Regions from separate parts of the Homo sapiens genome. Here regions 1 and 3 are each linked to region 2. Evidence: promoter capture Hi-C in 16 types of primary human blood cells and fetal thymus (Javierre and others, 2016). All regions are on one chromosome and are shown on one strand. The core of a region is centred on a gene start or on the middle of the fragment in contact, and the rest is flanking DNA. Distances in the headings are between cores, read along the strand shown. Region 1 has its middle 540 kb from the start of LINC00052. Region 2 holds the start of NTRK3 (neurotrophic receptor tyrosine kinase 3). Region 3 overlaps AGBL1 (AGBL carboxypeptidase 1).

The links. The method cuts DNA at HindIII sites, captures the fragments that hold promoters and counts their contacts. A CHiCAGO score of 5 or more calls a contact.
Region 1: a fragment that was not itself captured here is called in contact with the fragment with the promoter of NTRK3 in region 2 in 1 of 17 cell types (naive CD4 T cells); the score reaches 5.3 in naive CD4 T cells.
Region 3: a contact is called between a fragment that was not itself captured here and the fragment with the promoter of NTRK3 in region 2, in 1 of 17 cell types (naive CD4 T cells). The highest score is 5.6, in naive CD4 T cells.

What each region holds. Positions count from the first base shown.
Region 1 is chr15:87,034,734-87,038,853 of GRCh38, reverse strand. No RefSeq gene overlaps it. Among named protein-coding and RNA genes, the nearest start is that of LINC00052, 540 kb to the left of the region's middle. The HindIII fragment of the contact is 247 bases long and covers 2,177-2,423 here.
Region 2 is chr15:88,255,417-88,259,378 of GRCh38, reverse strand. It overlaps NTRK3 (neurotrophic receptor tyrosine kinase 3), which reads left to right and starts at 2,640. Exons shown (of 20, transcript NM_001012338.3): 1 at 2,640-2,735; 2 at 2,893-3,095; 3 at 3,211-3,473. The coding sequence starts at 3,226. The region is part of intron 1 of NTRK3-AS1 (NTRK3 antisense RNA 1); the gene reads right to left. RefSeq lists enhancers at 787-1,081, 3,422-3,958, 3,959-3,962. The HindIII fragment of the contact is 4,913 bases long and covers 2-3,962 here.
Region 3 is chr15:86,893,243-86,896,877 of GRCh38, reverse strand. All of the region lies in intron 22 of AGBL1 (AGBL carboxypeptidase 1), which reads right to left. Among named protein-coding and RNA genes, the nearest start is that of AGBL1-AS1, 580 kb to the right of the region's middle. The HindIII fragment of the contact is 813 bases long and covers 1,209-2,021 here.

The DNA of each region.
Region 1 (4,120 bases), core at 1,051-3,550, 1.2 Mb after region 2:
GTAATTTATAAAGGAAAGAGGTTTTAATTGACTCACAGTTTCGCATGGCTGGGGAGGTCTCAGGAAACTTACAATCATGGCAGAAGGTGAAAAGGAAGCAGACACCTTCTTTACAAGGCAGCAGGAAAAGACAGTGCAAGCAAAGGAGGAACTGCCAAACACTCATACACCCAACAGATCTCGTGAGAACTCACTGGCTATCACGAGAACAGCATGAAGGAATCCACCCCCATGATCCAATCACCCCTCCCTCCCCTGTCAGGTCCTTCCTCAATACAGTTTGAGAAGAGAGTTAGGTGGGGACACAGGGCCAACCCATCTCACTCACTGTGGCTATTAGGAACTTGAATGTCTCCCAGCCCTGTAAGAAATCTGGAAGTTGTTAGCACATAGTTTCCCGGCAATTGTTCTTTTTAGGTTTCATAGAAGATTACTCTTTCCCTGTAGAGAGTAATATTTAGCCGGAGACTCAAAAGGGCCCCTGCAGATTTCTGTGGCTCTCCCTGTGAGTAATCCTTTGTTCTCTGGTGCTCTTCTTTCACCTATTCTAGTTACCCCTGACTTTCCAAGATTTTTTCTCTGTCTTCTCTTATCAGCAAAACCTTCAGGCTCTGATTAAATTTCTTCTTCCTTTGCTAATGGACTCTAGGCAGAAAACTGGGATAGTGATTTAGACCAGCTCTTTAATTTCCATTTTCTTAGGGATCACAGTCTTATCCTACCTGTTGTCCAATGTCTGAAAAATATATGTGTGTATATATGTATGTGTATATGTATATGTATGCAGTATGCCACTTTAATTTTTTTCTCATTGCCATCTGTGTGTATCTTAAAAGATATTTTCTGAGTGGTTCCACTCAGAAATTAGTCTGAATGATACAAATATAGATTCAAAGTTTCCATAAAAACTATGCTTTAATACAGCTCCTCCCTCCCCCCAATTTATGTTATTTTTGTGGCAAGTTGCATCTTTATATAGGATGTATCCATTAACATAGATTTATATTGTTTTATGCATTTAAATCATATAAAAAATAAAGTTAACAAAAACTAAAAATACAATAATATCAGCTTTTATCCTTATGTAATTATCTTTACCAGGATTTATCATTTATGCATATAGCTTTGATTTTCTGTCTGATATTCTTTAATTTGAGCCAAAGGATTCTAATTAGGATTTCTTGTAGGGCAGTTCTACCAGCAATGAACTCCTTCAGCTTTTGTTTATCTGAGAATGAGATTCTTGAATGTGTAGATATGTCTTTTATCAAATTTTAGAGTTTCTTCAAATATTATTTTCTCTCCTATTTCCCTTTCATCTCCTTCTGGGATTCTCATTATGTGTATGTTTTTATGCCTAATGGTGTCCCACAAAACCTTTAGGCTCTGTTCCTTTTTCTTCATTTCTATTTTTCTTCTGTTCCTCAGACTGAATATTTTAAATGGTTCTACCCACATTTTCTCTGATTATCTTTTCTGTTTGCTCAAATCTGCTATTGGTATCCTTTAGTGAGTTTTTTGCTTCAGTTATTATATCTTCAGCTTTAAAATTTCTGTTTTTTATAGTTTCTCTTTATTTATATTTTTTATTTATTCATATGTAATTATTCTGGTTTCCTGTAGCTCTTTAAGGTAGTTGAATTACAGTTATTTGTCTAGTAAATTAATGTCTGCTTTCTCAGGAACCGTTCCTATAAATTTCTTCTGTGAATAGACCACACTTTCTTGTTTTGTTTCGTGCTTCATAATTTTGAAAACAAACATTTTTAATACTAGAGTGTGATAACTCTGGAAATCAGACTTTTCCCTATCCTCTGCAATTGTATTAGTTGCTTGTTATAGGCTGTAGCCATTGGTTTAGTAATTTTGCTGAACTAATTTTGTACTGTATAGTCTTCTTCACGTGTGATCTCCAAAGTCTCTGTTCATTTAGTTTGTATTCAGCAAGTATTTTGGCAGATACTTCCTTACATGCCAGGAACGTCAACCTCCAAAATAAGAAAATTGACAAAAAAAGAGGAGGAAACAAATTTTAATAATAATAATAATCTATTTATCCTGGCCTTTGCAGGATAGGCTGAGTAACAGCTCAGCCTTCCAACATCAGATTAATTTCACTTTATTCTGCAAAAAGAATGTACTATTCTCCCACCTCTGTCTTCCATGTTTTGAAGCTTATGTTTGAAGCTATTACTTTGTGTTAATGATTCTTAGTTCACAATCTTAAAAAGAAAACAGACTGCAAATCTGTGTCTTTTATGGCAAAGAAAGAAACAAGTAGTGGTGTTATATTACCCCTTCAAAAGGAATAGCCCCTGTGTTATTTGCAGATTGGCTATGTGCTGGGTCACTCCTTCGATGTTTAGCCTTAGTTTTCGCTTCCTGCTTGTTCCAAGCCTAGAGATTAGCCCTAAGTGAAAGCTTAGGGCTTTCCCAGGTCTTTTCTGAGCATGTATCATGTCGTGGGCATATGTGTACCTTTCTAAATCTTTCAGTATACACAGGTGTCTTTGAGTAGCCTACTTTCCCAAAGAATCTCTCTTCTTATGTTTTCACCCATGCTTTGGGTATTCTCCTGTATGCTTCAGCCATAATCTTTTGCCTCAGGTGATTTTGGCTTCTTCAGTTGATTTACAAGGTTCTCAAGGATTGCATGCTGTTTTTCCACCCTGTGTGAGTTCCAGATCAGACAAAACAATGACAAGCAACTTGTGTCAGTTCTTCCAGCAGCCCCCAGACAGACAGATTAGAACAAACATAATTCTTTGCAAATGAGGTGTGTAATACTCCCTCCAGAATCAGGAAATGAGGTTCTGGGAAAGTGGGCTGCTGTCTTCAAAATCACTGCCAAACTGGAGAAGGGGTAGAGCAAGGGCAAGTAAAAATGCTACATAACTTTTCTACCATTTTTAAATGGTCTTTTTCTTGATTCAGCATTTGCTTGGTTATTGTAATTCTTTTATGATTTTCAGGATTCTGACAGTTGATTCTGACAACTTTGCTTGATTTTTCTGTTTCTGTTTGAAGAATGAATTGTTAGAGTTGCCTACTCCCCTACTTCTGCTGACATCATCTCTATTTTTACTTATTTGTTTTCTGGACATTACTAGTAGATAACAAAAGAGCAATAGAGATGAAATATGAAACAAAACCCCTGCAATTCTTTCCTGCTCCTGGACTGCACTTTGCAATAGGCAACAACATGAACTTTTACAAATTCAAAGGTGAAATCCAGGAGAAGGTGTCCTGAAGGGATTTGTGGGCATGCTGTTGCTAGACTTGAATACGTTCGATTCCTTTTACATATCTCCATTCTAATGAGAAGACCCTACATTTTCATAATTAGTGTGCCAATCTTACCAGCAGAAAGAAGACTAAAAATAATTTTGTCCCTGCAGTGTAGCAATGTGCCCAATAAATGTATTTGTTTGGATCCTCAGATAATTAATTTTGGCAGTATGTGTTCATTATTCATCCATTGATTAATTTACTCAACATATAAACTCTATGTATATACATATATATACACATATATATACATATACGTATATAAGTATATGTATATATATACTTATATACGTATATGTATATTATATATGTGTATATATACACATAGTTTATATATTAAATATATACATATATACATATATATACAGGTATATATACACGTACGTATATGTACATATACGTACGTGTATATATACAGGTATATATACACGTACGTATATATACATATACGTACGTGTATATATACACGCGTATATGTACATATACGTGTATATACACGTATATACGTATATATACGTATACATATATCTATATGTATAGATATACGTATATACACATGTATCTGTATATACATATATGTATATACACATGTATCTGTATATATATATTATGTATGTATACATTTATACATATGTATGTATACATGTATATATGTATGTATACATGTATATATAGGTATGTATACATGTATACATGTATATATGTATGTATACATATATGTATGTATACATGTATATATGTATGTATACATGTATGTATACATGTATACATGTATATATGTATGTATACATGTATGTATACATGTATATATGTATGTATACATGTATACATG
Region 2 (3,962 bases), core at 1,391-3,890:
TTGTCATTTCCCTGTGGTTAGAAATGAAATTCTGCTCTTCCCCACTCTAGTCTATCACCTGCTTTTTTTTTTTAAACCTTTAAGTTCAGGGGTACGTGTGTAGGATGTGCAGCTTTGTTATACAGGTAGACATGTGTCATGGGGTTTGTCGTACAGATTATTTCATCACCCAGGTATTAAGCCTGGTATCCATGAGTTATTTTTCCTGATCCTCTCCCTCCTCCCACCTTCTACCCTCTGGTAGACCCTCATGTGCATTGTCCCCTCTATGTGTCCATGCGTCACCTGCTTTTGAAAGGGCTTCCCTCTTTTTCAGCTGTCGCTTCCTGCTCAGGCCCAGAGTGTGAGCATAAACGTAGCACCCCATCTTAATCCCATTTTACTGTCAGGATGAAAGACTTCTTGCCCATCAGGGCCCCTTGCTCCACAATCTGCATTTTTACCAAATCCAGAGGGGTTTTTAAAGGTTTTTTGTTGTTGTTGTTTTTGTTGTTCTAACTTATGGATGTCTCTTCTTCTCTGCTTGACATGTTAAAAATCCTCTCTCTCTCTCTTTCTTTCTCTCTCTCTCTCTCTCTCAAAAAAGTGGGCTGGGCATCTTTTGGACACAACCATTTCAGTTCCAGGCTGGAGCACTGATGCTGGGCTGAATCCACTTGGCGTTCCCTGCCCAGGAGTGGTCTGAGAGAGGCTGTGTTTCTCTGCTGCCACCTGCCACCTCCCAAGAGAGGCCAAGTGTTAGGATCTGACTACACCTCAGTTTCCTGACTCTCAGATATTCTAAAGCCAATCCCAGAATGGCACTTGAAGTGACAGGGAAATTCCCAGTGGCCTAAGGACAGCCAGGATTGGCCTAGGGCCAGTAGCAAGTGGTTTGAGAGTCCAAGGAGGTCTTCACACTCTGTCCCCGCCTGCTGGTGGGAGGGCAAAATGCCAGTCTGGAGACAAGGCCATAATGGCGACGGGGGTAAAAATCTCCCTGGGGCCAAGGGAAGGTGGAACGTGACGGGAAGTCGGGAAAACTGCCTTGTATAGGCATGTTCTTTTCTTCCATTTTTTTCGTCCAAGTTTTTACTCCAAGCGACAGTGCCACCCGAAGGCGACCGGCCTGTTTGTGGTTGCGCCTGGGGCAGGCGGTGACACCGGCATACCCCTTCCCCCATCTTGCCTGCAAGTTGCATGACCTGCATCGGAATCCACAGGGGGGCGGGGGAGACTCCTTTCAGATACTGGATGCAGTTGAATTGAATTCAATGTATTTTGCTTCCTCGCCTGCCCTCCTCCAAGCTCGGGAAGGAGAACCCTGCTTTCTTCTGCGTGTGAATGCTGTAGTGTGTCTGCCTGCTCGGACTCCCCTAACCCTTTCTTCTCCTTTCCCACAGCGAATGCTCGTTTTTTTTTTTTTCAGCAAACAGCTCACACTTGGCATCTTTATGTTTTATTAAGAAAAAAATCCCTACCAGCGCAAAAGCGGGGCCCCCCCCACACACACTTCTTTCCCGGATGAGATCTGAGCTCTCGTCGAAAGCTGCACCTGCTTTGCGTCCCTACCAGGAAGGGGTGCTTGTGTGGGAGGGAAGGAGGAGGTTCTGCGCCCCCGAATCCGGAGAAAGCAGCCCGCCCGCCCCCTCACCCGGCAGCCAGCTCAGCTCACCCGAGAGCTGAGCCCGAGAAGCCGGCCTCTGACGGTGCTGGCGTGGCGCTTGCCAAAATATGCCCCTTGCATCTCAATTTCCCCCGGCCATTTCTCTTGCACGCACAGCTCGCCCGGGGCCACCTCGGCTCTCCAGCGCAGCCCTTTCGACCCCTGTTTCTTCCTTCCCCGATCCATGCCTGCTCAAGGCCGAATGCAAAACCCACCTCCAAGAAAGCGCAGCGGGCACGGGGGGCACCTAGCGTGCCATGTCCCGCAGTCCCCTCCCAGCCAAGACCAGAGCCCCAGACTCTAGATTACGGAAATGAGTGTCATTCAGACCAAGGACTGCGCGTCTGCGGTCCCGGTCCCCGGCTCTGGGTGCTTCTCTGGGGTGTCTGTGCGCTCCGGCACCCCCCGTCGCCGTCCGTGAGCCTGCGCCCCCCACCCACCCAGGCTTGGGAGCGCCCCCCACCCAAGGCTTGGGAGCACTCCCCAATCACCTCCGCCACGTTCATTTCACTTCCTACCGCGGTCCGGATTGCAGCAAAACCGGGTAGCGCGAGGGCCAAAAAGTGGAAAGGAGAGCGCCTTTCCGTGTCGTGCAGCCAGCTCGCCAACTCTCCCTCCCCAGCCCCGACCCTCGCAATCTCAAATGCAACTTTTTCCCTTCGGTCTCGGTTTCCCCCGGGCTGCGGCTAGCGGGCGCCGCGCTGCGAGGCGTGGAGCGGGCGGGCTGCCGCGAGGCTGCGGGTGGCGGTGCCGGCTACAGCCGCGAGCCGGCGAGTGGGTGGGTGGGTGGGTGGGGAGGAGGGAGAGGACAGGCGGGGAGAGAGACGGGTGTGGGGAGGGGAGGGAGGGGGAGATTCCGCTCTCCTGCCGCTCCCAGCCCGGGCGGGGGGCGGGGGGAGGAGGCCGCGACGAGGGAGGGGAGGAGGGAGGGAGGAAGGGAGGGAGGGAGCCGAGGAAGACGCTCCGATAACCCGTGCGTTTCGTAAGGCTCGGAGCACTTGTACATTTCTGCAGCCGCGCGGCGAGCCATTCGCGGCGGCTGCTGCAGCTCCTACTGCATCTTCCTTCTCTTCCTTTCCTCGGGCTCCGGGTGTGTGTATGTGTGAGAGTGAGTGTGTGTGTTTTGCAGGTGCGTGGTGTGTCCGTTTTAATTCTGCCCAGTAGGTGGGACTTGGTGACTTTAGCACCATTTTTTCCTTTTCCTTTTTTTTTTTTGCCTCCCCACCGTCTGTTGCAACCCTGCAAAGTCTCGGAGTCGGAGAGCGCGCCTCGCTTCCAGAGCCCCCGGACCCGGCGAGTCAGCGATCGCCGAGCCGGCCACCATGCCCGGCAGACCGCGCCACTAGGCGCTCCTCGCGGCTCCCACCCGGCGGCGGCGGCGGCGGCGGCGGCGTCCGCGATGGTTTCAGACGCTGAAGGATTTTGCATCTGATCGCTCGGCGTTTCAAAGGCAGAGGCCCCCCCTCCCCCTTCCCCCCTCCCTCGCCGTCTTTGTTTCCTTCCCCCCCTGCTCTCCCCACTCCCCCCACCCCACCCCCCTCTCCTCTCCTCCTCCTCTTTTTTAGAAGCAGCGATCGGAGATGGATGTCTCTCTTTGCCCAGCCAAGTGTAGTTTCTGGCGGATTTTCTTGCTGGGAAGCGTCTGGCTGGACTATGTGGGCTCCGTGCTGGCTTGCCCTGCAAATTGTGTCTGCAGCAAGACTGAGATCAATTGCCGGCGGCCGGACGATGGGAACCTCTTCCCCCTCCTGGAAGGGCAGGATTCAGGGAACAGCAATGGGAACGCCAGTATCAACATCACGGACATCTCAAGGAATATCACTTCCATGTAAGTCAGGCGGCCGCTCCCCAGCCTGCCTCCCCCGCGCTCTGCGTCTCCCTCCTGCCCACCCGCGGCCGGGAGCCGGCCCTCCGCCCGCCCCAGCTCGCCGCTGCCCGCCGCCCGCTGGGCGCGCGTCAGGCTCGCTCTGGCTCGGGAGATGCTCTCCGGCTGCGCATTCCAGGTGACTCCGGCCCTGGCGAGGCGCGATCCGGCTATGCGTGTGTGTGCCTCTCCCCGGAGAGGACCCCGGCCGCCGAGGGCACGCGGGGCCCAGCTACCGCCCGCCTCCCAACCAGTTGCTGGCTCGTTTCGATGGTGCAAATTGTTTTTTTTTGCTCCCCACTAAATAGCAACAGTTTGGCCACGCTCAAGTGGAATAAAGTAGACGAGGTTCGATTCTTTGGCAGAGGCGGCAGCGGCGGTGGCAGCGGCGGCAGCGCTTAGCCGGCAGGGAAGGTGACAGATAGGGACTGCTCGCGATCCAGCCGAGGTGTT
Region 3 (3,635 bases), core at 366-2,865, 1.4 Mb after region 2:
AATGGGGAGTGCATGGTCAGAGAAGTGTTGATGAGCACAGAACTATGTTATAATAAACATATAACTAAGGATAATCTGGAAATGATGTTTACAAAAGAGAATATAAATGCTATCAATCTTGTCAATGGAAAGGTGATGCTATAACTAATAAAAATAAGAACATATGCATGAGAAAGAAAATGCATATTGGAATAATTTATCTTTTACAGCAGAAGTCAATAGACAATATGCTAATTTTAAAAAAGAAACAAAAAATAGAGATTTAAATATGGGAAAGTAATGTTAGCAACGCAACAAAGTTAGAAAACCTAACTACCAGAAGGGGGAAAATGTTGACAAAATATAGAAATCATAGATTACACAGATGTAGAGTTCACAATTACATTGTGAATCACAAACCATGTAATTCTTGTTGGTGAAAACTTGAGGCCCCCATCAGAAACAAATACAAAATTACCATGCAGGTATTTTTTTTTTTTTAAACCCAGGGTATATGGAACTCTCCTGAGAGGGGGTGAAGACTACAGCCTGCAGAAGATACACTCAAAATAACAAATCATAAGTCAAATGAGGAAATAATCCACCTTGAACAAGACTCAGCAGATACGAAAAGCAGCAAAAGCAGACACTCACGAACTTGAAATATTATGACCCATTTGGAAAAGACTATAGAATGGTTATATTTGAAATAATTAATAAATTAGAATAAGTTCTCGAAACATAATGAAAGAAAAAGATTTTTTTGGGAAAAAAGGTAGATTTAAATATTAAACAGCCTTTTCTCTAAATGAAAAAACATTTTAACAAAAAGCTTAATAGAATGGTTAAATGTCACAGACACAGTTCAGCAAAGATAAGAAACAAGAAGGAATTTTTAAAAGTCGTGTTTAGGGTAAATGGGTAAGAGATAATATTTAAAAAGATACCAGTTGAAAGATGATCATCTTCAAGAAATACTCTAGAAACCAGAAAAAAATAGGAAATATATGAAGTTCATAAGTAAATACATCATAATAAACATCAATAAAGCAGGGCAAATCTTAGAAAACTTGAGAAATAAAGACAGATTATCTTTAAATAAGGGACATTTAGATCAACAATAAATTTTCCATAAAAACAAATTAAATAAGGGAAACTAGGTGAAAGGAACTTTCTGTGGTATCTTTGCAGTGTTTCTATAAATATAAAATTATTCTAAATTTAAAGCTTAATTTGCAAAAGCAAAAACAAACAAATAAATAAAAATGTTAAAGCGAGGCAGAAAAAAGAAATTAATTATGTCTTGTCAATGCTGAGGGAAAATGAACCCCAAACTGCAATTCTATACTCAAAAAATCCCTTTATTTCTTTTGCATGAGTAAATACATCTTCCCATGGAGAAACCACTGCTAAAAAGAACTACTATAGTATATAGCTTAGTAAGAAGAAAACGGAGCTCAAGAAATACACGCAAATGCAAAAATAATTAAAAAAAAAAAAACTAAACATGTCAGATAAAGAACTGGAAAGTCTACTCTTGTAGGCTGACAGTGGTTATACTTAGACAATGAGAATAAGATGACATAAGGTACAGGTTATTTTTTATGTATCAATATTTTCTATATTTTTCTCAAGGCTTAAAATGAGTATTTTAATGAGAAAAAAAGAATATAATGTTTTACATCTAAAAACAAAAAAGTAAGGCTGGGAAAAGAAAAGAGGGGGGAAAGAGAAAGAAGAAAAGAGTAAAAAGAGAAAGAGAAGAAAGTAGAAGGAAGAAAGGAAGGAAAAAAGAAAGGGAAGGAGGGAAGATAAAAGAAAGGGAAGGAGGGAAGATAAAAGAAAGAAGGAACAAAAGGGGATGGATATGAAAAGATGAAACACTGTTGTTAGATGTCCCTGGCAAGTGGTCAGAGTCACTGTGTCCTGCCACCACTTAATCCATTATCTTATTCCCTTTGAACAAAGTTGTTCAGATCTAGCAAAATGCAATAAAACTGCCTTGACACTCCTGCCAACCTTTCTATCTTGAAGGTAAAGCTTGCATTCAGCTCTTTGAAATCTTCCTTGAGAACATCAGCCTCTCCCTTCTTTAACTTGTTTGAGCACTTTGTTGGACCACTCTCTTTGACTAGATACTTCTATTTTGTTTAATATGACTGGCAGTGGTAAGAAGCAATTCTGTGTGTGGTGGCCTCCTACTGGTTTCACCACTGCTCCTTGTACTGCCTTTGTGCCCAGGGCAGTGTGGAATACTTAATAGATACCAAATCACCTCCAATCTTATTAACTGTTTGCTCATTCCAGATAATTCCCCATTCTCATAAACAGCCTCACACTTAAGTTAGCCTAGCGGTCCAGAAGAGCAACACAGCCCGTGTCCAGGAGAACCTTCTTCTAAGGGCAGCATTCTACATGCCAGAGAGCAGACAGCAGCTTCTAAAATAAAGCTCCAACGTCATGCAGAGTTGCTCTCTCTGCAGCTCAGATTCAGCTCCCTCAGGATGAAATACATATGTTAAGGCATGGTTACAATAACTTCAGCAATAGTAGGGTGTTAGCTATTCTCTCTCTCTCCTCCCTCTTGATTTTTCAAACCTGATGAATTCAATTCATACTCACCATTTGCAACTGAAGTTAAATATAAATGAAAGAAAATAGCATTATAGCATCATGCAGAAATCAAACGGTAGTTCCACTGATAGAGTGGGCCTTAATATTGAGATGTGGGAAATACATGGAGAAAACACCTGAAAATTGATTTTATTTCCTCCTTTCACTAGGAAGCTTTGATGTCCTGTAAACACACATTCAAAAGTGAAGTCACTTTAGGCGGTATTGGAGAGTCATGGTGTAGGGGCAAAATATAAATCAGAAACAAAACATAAAATTAGAGTCAGATAAGTAATTGTGGGTTTGAATTCTTCTCCAAATACCAAGTGAGAAACAGGAATTTGCCTTCTCTGAGCTTTGTTGTCTTCATGTGTAAAATGGGAATCTTATTGTTTTTCTTCTTGAAATGATATACATAGAAATGAATGCCATAGCATAAAACCTCTTCTTCTTGAAATGATGCACTTAGAAACAAATGCCATAGCATAGAACCTCACACATAGTCACTCGACTGAATTTTTATTCCCCTTTCCTTTCCACAGAGTTTGGAGACAAAGTATGAAAATAATTTTCTCCTGGCAAGTTCACCATCCTCATCCTCAAACATAAACCTATATAAATGCAGCTTTCAGACAATCTCTAAGCAAAGCCATTAAGAAGACTCTATCCCTTGCCATTCTTCCAAGCCAGCCTATACAGCAATTTGCAACTTTATGATGTGATAGAGTTTCTTTGTTTTGATTTTTCATTTGCATATTTATTGAGATATGACGATCTTAATTAGTTCTGCTTTTTTTGTTTTGTTTGTTTTCTTGGTTGGGAAAAGACAGCTTCCTATAGTGAAAAATAATTCTGCATGCTAACAGGGTGAACAAAACCCAGCCTGTGGCATTCCTTAATGTTGATGGTGATTTAAACGCAGTTTTGCGGATTCTTTTTATCACTTGTTTTCTCTTTAAATGCTGAGGTAATGCTCAAGACTTGGGTGAATGCCAGACCTCAAGAGGCAGCCACCTACTGAGAAGCAAGAGGCGAACACTTAA